Linked DNA regions of Homo sapiens: region 2 is linked to region 1. Evidence: promoter capture Hi-C in human tissues and cell types (Jung and others, 2019). All regions are on one chromosome and are shown on one strand. The core of a region is centred on a gene start or on the middle of the fragment in contact, and the rest is flanking DNA. Distances in the headings are between cores, read along the strand shown. Region 1 holds the start of MAP3K10 (mitogen-activated protein kinase kinase kinase 10). Region 2 overlaps ZNF780B (zinc finger protein 780B).

What was found. The method cuts DNA at HindIII sites, captures the fragments that hold promoters and counts their contacts. A contact is called where the count stands out against the background at its distance.
Region 2: a contact is called between a fragment that was not itself captured here and the fragment with the promoter of MAP3K10 in region 1, in 4 of the 25 tissues and cell types used here (dorsolateral prefrontal cortex, hippocampus, lymphoblastoid cells and 1 more).

What each region holds. Positions count from the first base shown.
Region 1 is chr19:40,189,091-40,193,613 of GRCh38, reverse strand. It overlaps MAP3K10 (mitogen-activated protein kinase kinase kinase 10), which reads right to left and starts at 2,188. Exons shown (of 10, transcript NM_002446.4): 1 at 901-2,188. The coding sequence starts at 1,582. RefSeq lists silencers at 1,491-1,790, 2,061-2,560 and an enhancer at 2,721-2,960. The HindIII fragment of the contact is 11,839 bases long and covers 1-4,215 here.
Region 2 is chr19:40,050,858-40,055,380 of GRCh38, reverse strand. All of the region lies in intron 1 of ZNF780B (zinc finger protein 780B), which reads left to right. Among named protein-coding and RNA genes, the nearest start is that of ZNF780B, 3.1 kb to the left of the region's middle. The HindIII fragment of the contact is 4,300 bases long and covers 1-4,227 here.

The DNA of each region.
Region 1 (4,523 bases), core at 939-3,438:
TGAATGAAATTGCTAGCCTGTGAGTACTGTCAGGGCAGAAACCATGGCTGTCTTACTCCCAGCTGGGCTCCTGCTTAATAGGTGCTCAATTAATACTTGTTGACACCACATGAAGCTCTTCCATCTAGAAATGAGTCTTGCAGAATGTTCCCTTCTACCTGGCTCCATTATTTATTCAACCAACCAATCAACTTTGGAGAACCTATCAGGCAGCCTGGAAGCTTTTATATAAGCCACATCAATTTAATTCCTCCCTCATCTTTTCCAGTTTGCCTTGGCCAGCTCGGCCTATGAAGACTCCAGGAAATGGTTCTCAACTGGGGGTGATTCTGCCCCCCAGGGGACATTTGCAATGCCTGGAGACACTTTTGGTTGTCATAGCTGGGGAGAGGGGGCAGGGAATGCTAATGACATCTAGTGGGAAGAGGCTAAAGATGCCGCTAAGCAACTCACAATTTACAGGACAGCCCCTACAACAATGATCTGGCCTCAAGTGCCAATAGTGCTGGGGTTGAGAGACACTGACTCCAGACGGGGTAGGCTCTTTTTGTCTCTGCCTGGTGGACTCTGGCAGCATGGCTGGATGGCAAGCACCTTGAAGGCAGGCACTGCATCTGTCCTGTTCATGCAGGGAACGCAGGTGTTCATGGATACATGTTTACTGAGCGATTGTGACTCTGCAGCCTGGGAGGCAGGTAAGTCCTTCAACCTTTCTGAGCCTCCTTTTTCTCCCTTAAGGCAGGCAAGGCCTACCTCACCTTCACCCTGAAGGTATCATACTGCTGCCCCTTCTCACTCCAGGCACAGTGTCATCTGGTGTCCCTCACCCTGTTTCCCACCACCTAGGCCTGGCCTTGAGAGGTTCTGTGGAAGGAATTTTGGGGAGAGGACACCACTTACTGTTGATGGACTTGAGGTCCCGGTGGATGATGGGCACAGGGGCATCATTGTGTAGGTAGTTCATGCCCCGGGCCACCTGCACAGCCCAGTTGACCAGCACGTGAGGTGGCACCCGGCGACCTGCCAGCACCCTGCTCAGTGCACCACCCCGGGCATACTCCATCACTAGGCAGAGGTGTGGGGGGTTGAGGCAGGCGCCCCTAAGGGCAATTATGTTGGGGTGCTGCAGGGCTCCAAAGAGCCGGGCTTCCTGGCACACCTGCTCCGCTGTCACTGCCGGGTCCTTCTCAGGGTCCAGCCGGGCGGCCTTGACTGCCACCTCCTCGCCACGCCACAGGGCCCGATAGACCTTGCCAAAGCCCCCCACACCGATGATCTCCTCTAGCTGCAGCTCGTGGAAGGGGATCTCCTGGGGCAGCTGGAGGCCCGCGGGTGCAGCGGGGGCGCCGGGGGCCACGTAGTTGCTGGGGAAGACGCCCACGCGGCCGCTGGGGAGCTGCCCGGTCCACCAGCCCTCGTCGCCGGACACCGCACAGTCTTGGGAAAGCACCTGGACGCGATCGCCCCTCCGCAGGGTCAGCTCCTCGTCGCCCGCCGCCTCGTAGTCGAACACCGCGGTCCAGACGGGCCCCGCGGGGGTCGTGCCCCACTCCTTGGCCACCGCCCCCTCCTCCTCCTCCATGGGGGAGGGGCCGGGGGCTGCGGGAGGCCGCTTCACACAGGCTGCCCGCGGGATGCAGAGGGCGGGCCCCGGCGGCCGGGATGGAGGGCAGTCCCTGCGGGGTCTAGGGAGCTCCTGAGGGCCATGGCTGGGGCGCCCTCCGCAGGAGCAAGAAAAAAAACCCTTTCAAAGGGCAGGCTCGTCCCTTCCGATTTGGCTGTACGGGCGGGGCGGGGCGGGGTGGGAGTGGGGCGGCAGGTTCACCCGTGCCCCCCAAACGGCAGAGGGCTAAGAGGGCCTGGCCGCGCGGCTCTCGAATGCCCGCCGGGGTCCGCCGGTGGGGGACGAGGGCGAGGGCGGCAGGCAGTCCCCGTTCCCCGCGCCGCTCACCCCGCGCAGCTCCACCGGCGGCCCCCGGCTCCGCATCCCGGGCCACGACTGCCGGGCCGGGCGGGGGTGGCGGGGCCCCTGGGGCGGCCGCCCCGGGCCGGGGTGGCGCGCCCCTCGGCCTCCTCACGCGCGGGGCAGCCGGGCGGCCCCCATCCTTGGCACCGGCCTCCCGGTCGGCCCCAGCCCCTGCCCCCCGCCCGTGCTGCTTCCCCGGGCCACCGGCGGGGCCCGAGTGACGTGTGGGCGCCGCCGCCGCGGTGCCTCCTGGGAGTTGTAGTCTCCGGCCGTGCGGCCTCGGGGCCCGGCTCTCAGCGCCCTCCAGCAGAGCCCCGCGGCCAGCCTCGGGCCGCAATGGACATGACACCCCACGAAGCCGAAGGAGTCCTCCCGGGGAGATGAGCCCGGCCTCGGCCCCTCCTTCGGACGCGGCGTAGCGGGCGCCCGGGGCGGGGGGAAGCGCTCCTCACAGACCCTGTGGGGGCCGCGGCCCAGGATGGGTTGGACTGCAACGGACGCGATTAGCAACGCGAAAAATAGGAGCTGCGTGCATGACTGTGACTGCCCGGAGCCGCGAACGCAGCCTGGACCTTATCCCTGAGGCAGGACGGCCCCTCGGACCCCCCGACCGAGATGTACGCTGGGAACTGTAGTCCGCGCGGGGACCTGGCGCTGCAGGGGGCGGCCCCCAAACAGCGGGCTGCGGGCGTCGGCGGGTGGTTGGAGCAAGTTAGGGGTCGGGCCGGTGGCGGGACTCTGCGGGGAAGATGGGGCTGGGAGGATGTGTTTAGTGTCCCTGGGGATGTCACAGCCACGTCTGCTTTCCCCACCAGCTCTGGGTTCCTCTGCTGAAGTCAGAACTCCTGCTCTTGAGAATCCCCGATTCCTATTTTATAGGAGTTTCAATTTCGGGGAGCTTAATGTGCATGTTGTATTCAGTGCTTTGTACACGTGGTATCGTTAAGTCTTCACAAAGAGCCCCATTTTACAGATGACTCATAGAGAAGTGAAGTCATTTGTGCAAGGCTACAGAGCTATAAATGGCAAAGCAAAAATGAAAGGCAGTTTTAAAAATTAACAACCAGGCCGGGCGCGGTGGCTCACGCCTGTAATCTCAGCGCTATGGGAGGCCAAGGCGGGCGGATCACGAGGCCAGGAGTTCGTGACCAGCCTGGCCAGCATGGTGAAACCCCCGTCTCTACTATTTAAAAAAAAAAAAAAAAATTAGCCGGGCGTGGTGGTGTGCGCCTGTAATCTATCCCAGCTACTCGGGAGGCTGAGGCAGGAGAATCGCTTGAACCTGGGAGGTGGAGGTTGCAGTGAGCCAAGATCACGCCACAGCACTCCAGCCTGGACGACAGGGCAAGACTCCGTCTCAAAATAAATAAATAAATAAATAACCATCGCCACGATTAACAAAAACAACAACAACAAAAAAAAAAACAACAAAAAACAAACAAACAAAAAACCCACTGCCTTTCTATTTAAAGAATGAGGAAAGTAGGTCCCGCAGAGGTTCAGTGACTTCTTCAAGATCTCTAAGCTTGTAAGAGGCAAAATTCTGGGTCTTTTTACTTGGCCTCTCCTGAGTGGTATGGGGTCTAGAGGGAGGAGAGAAGAAGAGGAAATAAGAGGGACTCTAGTGCCCAAACTCCAGAGAACTGCCCCTCAGGGTCCTTGGGGAATTGTTCCATTGTCAGAGGGAAGTGGGTTACCTGGTCTCCTGGCTACCTAGCAGGGACACTCGGAGCATATCAAAAATGCTTGTTGGAAGAGAGAGCCCCAGCTTCATTCTGAGTATAAGTGTTTCTGCTATAACCTGCTATATGCATTCTTAAAAAACCTTCAGTTCTTCAAAACGGTGCACTAAAATTAACAAGACTTCATGGAAAAAATAGAGTTAGAGACAGATTGCTCAAAATATATGCAACTAGCTGGGCACGGTGGCTCATGCCTGTAATCCCAGCACTTTCAGAGGCCGAGGAGGGAGAATTACTGGAGTCCAGGAGTTTCAGACTAGCCTGGGCAACATAGGGAGACTCCGTCTCTACAAAAAAATAAAAAATTAGGCGGGTGTGGTGGTGTGCACCTGTGTTCCCAGCTACTCGGGAGACTGAGGTATAGGGGTATTACCTGAGCCCAGGAGGTCGAGGCTACTGTGAGCTGTGATTGTGGCACTGACTGCACTCCAGCCTGAGAGACAGAGCGAGACCCTGACTCAAAAAAAAAAAAGTAAAAATAAAAACCTGTATACAACTTTTTTTTTTTTTGAGATGGAGTCTCACTCTGTTGCCAGGCTGGAGTGCAGTGGCACGGTCTTGGCATACCACAACCTCCGACTCCCTGGTTCAAGTGATTCTCCTGCTTCAGCCTTCCGAGTAGTTGGAATTACAGGTGGGCGCCACCATGCCCAGCTAATTTTTGTATTTTTAGTAGAGACAGGGTTTCACCATGTTGGCCAGGATAGTCTCGATCTCCTGACCTCGTGATCCGCCCGCCTTGGCCTCTCAAAGTGCTGGGATTACAGGTGTGAGGCACCATGCCCGGCCTCTTGTATACAACTTTATATTCAGAG
Region 2 (4,523 bases), core at 828-3,327, 140 kb after region 1:
TTTTTGATTTTAGAATATAGAGGTTCCTGTAAATTTTTAGTGAATTTCAGGAGAATATGCAAATTGATTCTTGCCCCCTCCCATTGTGCCGCCTCCCAGCGAGCCGTTCCCCACCCCGCCCGCTCCCCACCTTGCCATTTAATATTCACAGAGCCATTTGGCAAATCGTTCACACCTTCCTGTACGCTCTCTTCTTCTAAGCTGGTATAAAAATAGTCCTCCAGAGGTTTATATTAAAGCTTTATTTTAGACTCTGCTTTGAAAAGAAGATTAGTTTGTGGAATCACACGCCAGGTTTCTGACTCTTTACAGGCCTCCTTTTCCAAGTAGGGAAGAATGGAGATGGTTGGGTGATTTCCATTCGTCTGTGAGGCTTTCAGGAATCGGAAAGTGATTGCACAGAAATTGGTATCAACCAGAGTCAGGATTTTTCGGGAGAGTCCATGAGATGATAATTGTAATACTTGCCAGATCTCTGTGAGATTCGGCAGTTCCGGTTGCATTTTGGGCTATTTGTGTGAACTGTGAGAGGCAGTACGCTGTTGCGGTTAAGAATAGGGGAGTGGATCCAGAGTATCTGGGTTGGAATGTTTGTTCTGTCCGTTTCTGGTCTTCTCAGGCTTGTAATGAACATTAGAATGAATTAATACTCTAAAACCTCTTAGAGCAGTGCTAGGCATATAATAATAAATGTTTAATGTTTTAGCTTTTGTTTTCGTGTGGTCATTTTAGGTCATTTCCCTTGACTTTCTATAGGACAGGAGCATTGGGAATATGTGATTCATTGTGATTGCTGCTTGCATAGTAAGAAAATGAGTGAGTTGCTCAAATGATCTAGGACAGAAGTTCTTTTTAAATTGACAGATAAAATTGTATGTATTTATCGTGTGCAACATGATGTTTTATAGTATATGTACATTGTGGAATGACTAAATCTAGCTAATTAGCAATGCATTACCTCACATAGTTATCATTTTTGTGGTGAGAACACTTAATATCCACTCTCTTAGCACTACAGAATAGTTATTAATAGTAGTTATTAATAGTAGATACGTTGTTGTGTAATAGATTTCTTGAGCTTATTTCTCTTATCTTCCTGAAATTTTATATCCTTTGACCAACATTTCCCCAGCCAACACCATCTTCCCTCCCTCACCCACATTACCCCCGACCTGTAAACACCATTCTCTTCTCTAATTCTATGATATCAAGTGTTTTCTTTTTTTGAGAGAGAGTGTCTTACTCTGTTGCCCAGGCTGGAGTGCAGTGGCGTGATCTCGGTTCACTGCAACCTCTGCCTCCCGGGTTCAAGTAATTCTCCTGCCCCAGCCTTCCGAGTAGCTGGGACTACAGGTGCATGCCACCACACCCAGCTTATTTTTGTATTTTTAGTAGAGACAGGGTTTTGCCATGTTGGCCAGGGTGGTCTCGAACTCTGGACCTTAGGTGATCCGCCTGCCTCGGCCTTCGCCTCCGCTTTCGAAAGTGCTGGGATTACAAGTGTGAGCCACCGCACCTGGCCTATATGAACATTTTTCAGATTCCACTGATGAGTGAGATCATCTGCCTTTCTGTGCTTGGCTTACTTAATATGAATTTCTCCAGGTTCATCCATGTTGTTGCGAATGACAGCATTTCCCTTTTTTTATGGCTAGTTTTCCATTGTGTATATATACCTGCATATATACCACATTTTCTTTATCCATTCATTGATAGACAGTTAGATTGATTCCATATCTTGGCTATTGTGAATAGTGCTGCAATAAACATGGGTGTGCAGGTGTCTCTTTGGTATACAGATTTCATTTCCTTTGGATAAATATCCAGTAGTAGATTGCTGGATCATATGGTGGTTCTATTTCTAATTTTTTGAGGAACCTCCATGCTGTTTTCCATAATGTCTGTGTCACTTTACATTCTCACCAACAGTGTGCAATGGTTCACATTTCTCTACATTCTCACCAACATTTGTTAACTTATGTCTTTTCAATAGCCACCCCAACACATATGAGGTGATATCTTATTGTAGGTTTAATTTTCATTTCCCTGATGATTAGTAATGTTGAGTATTTTTTCATATACTGTAGCCATTTATATGTCGTCTTTTGAGATGTGTTTATCAGGTCCTTTGCCCATTTTTTAATTGGGTTGTTTTCTTGCTGTTGAGTTCCTCACACGTTTTGGATATTAACCCCTTATTAGATACATGACTGCAAATATTTTCTCTCATTCTGTAGGTAGTCTCTTCACTTTGCTGTGCAGAAGCTTTTTTAGCTTGATGTAATTTCATTTGTCTATGTTTGCTTTTATTGCCTGTGCTTTTGAAGTCATTTCTAGAAAAAAAAATTATTGCCCAGATCAATGTCATGAAGCTTTCCCCGTACGTTTTTTTCTATTTGTTTCATAGTTTGGGATCTTACATTTAAATCTTTAATCCATTTAGAGTTGATTTTTGTATAATGGTTTGAGAAAAGGGTCTAATTTCATTCTTCTGTGTATGACTCCCCAGTTTTCACAACAGTATGTATTGAAGAGACTGTCTTTTCCTTATTGTATGTTCTTGGCACCTGTCTCAAAAATCAGTTGGTTGTAAACATATGGATTTATTCTGGGGCTCTCTATTCTGTTCCGTTTGTCTAGGTGTCTGTTTTTATGTCAGTATCATGCTGTTTTGGTTACTATAGCTTTGTAGTATATATTGAAGTCAGGTAGTTTGATGCCTCCAACTTTGTTCTTTTTGCTCCAGACTGCTTTGGCTATTTGGGTCTTTTGTGGTTCTATGCACATTTTAGGATTTTTTTTTTTCTATTTTTGTCAAGAATGTAGGACTGAAATTCTTAATCTGAGTTCTTGTAACTCCACGTATGGTCTTGGGGACCACAAAGCTCTTGAAATAATGTATTGAAGTACTATGGAAATTTATCAATGTGGGTTTTAGAGGGAGAAATAGTATATCATTTCATAAGACTATCAAAACTGTATGTGACCCATGAGGTTTGGATCCATTGATCTAGATAGAACATTGATTCTCAGCGGGGGTGATGTTTAAAAACTTTTGGTTGTCACACCATGGGGGAGGTGCTACTTAGATCTAGTGGATAGAGGTCAGGGATACTGCTGAACATTGTACCGTGCACAGGATAACCCTCCCTATAGCCCCAACAAAGGATTATACAGCACAATATGTCATTAGTGCCTAGGGTGAAAAACCTTAGTCTAGAATCAAAAGATTGTGATACCTGGAATGACACTGTAAATGATCTTATATAAATCAAGTGTCCTGTAATATGGAAATCACTAAGCAAATTATACTAGACTCAAGTGATAAAGTATTATGCAGCTAATAAAATGATGTCTATAAAGAATTATGAAAAGAAAAATATTTGATATACCATTAAGCAGTATTCATGCTATGAACAATGATACTCAAGAAAATGTTACATGTATATGAATCCCATATACTAAGATAGGGTTTTTGTAAGGCATTCTGTAGGAATTGTATCCAAAATGATATTTTAATGAGTTATTTGGTGAAGAAGGGAACCAAGCATGGTGATGTACATTCCACAGATTTTCTCATGTAGTTTCCAGATGCCACTTATCTGCATTGTGTTCATTCAGAGAAGAGTCTTGATAATGAAAATGTCTAATTATATTGGTGAGATACAGCTAAAGGATGTCAGAACTAGCTGATGTTATTTGTTATAGTCACATTAATCTTTTTGATCCTCATGACAGGCACAGTTTTTTGTTTTTTATGATTAAAAGTACTCACTCTCTGTTAACTCTGTTTTATTTTTATTTTTGAATTCGGATGTAGAAATATGACCATCATTAATGCATACAAGAAATTAGTTGAAGACTTGTAGACAATTTTTTTTAGAAATTGTACTAACATACATAGAAAAACATAGACATCTTAGTGTTGGTCAAGAATTGGGAAATAATGGAAACAAATTTATTACATAAAAACAAGAGCTCAGTAGAGTTTCCTTTTTTTGTCCCCACGTTGAAAGGAAAATGTCTAAATAAAAGATGTCTTTCATCTAATTTGGAGAACAATTTCCTCGCAAGAAAAAAAATGTGTATGTACATTTAAATATGTACATATATAGATACATACACATGTGTATATGTGTGTATATATGTGTGTGTGTGTGTGTGTGTGAATATAATTATATATTCTAAGTTAAATGCCTGGGCATAGTCACAATTATGACATACTCTTTAGCAAAAAGAAGAAAATTGGGGCTACAATACAGAGATAAGCACTGTTAGCATGCATATACCTGTCTAAATTTTTGTATTGATGTCTATTAGTCTTTTGCTTAATATTTCTATATACATATATTTTACAAATGTAATCGTATTGTTTATCCTGCTTTGTAACCTGATTTTTCTGTTAATCATATGTCTGGAACAATTAATGATTACTTTGTATTCTATTACATGGCTATTCTGAACTGTACTTACCCCAGCTGGCTTTTGGTGAACTCAGAATGCTGAACACTGCCCATGCAATT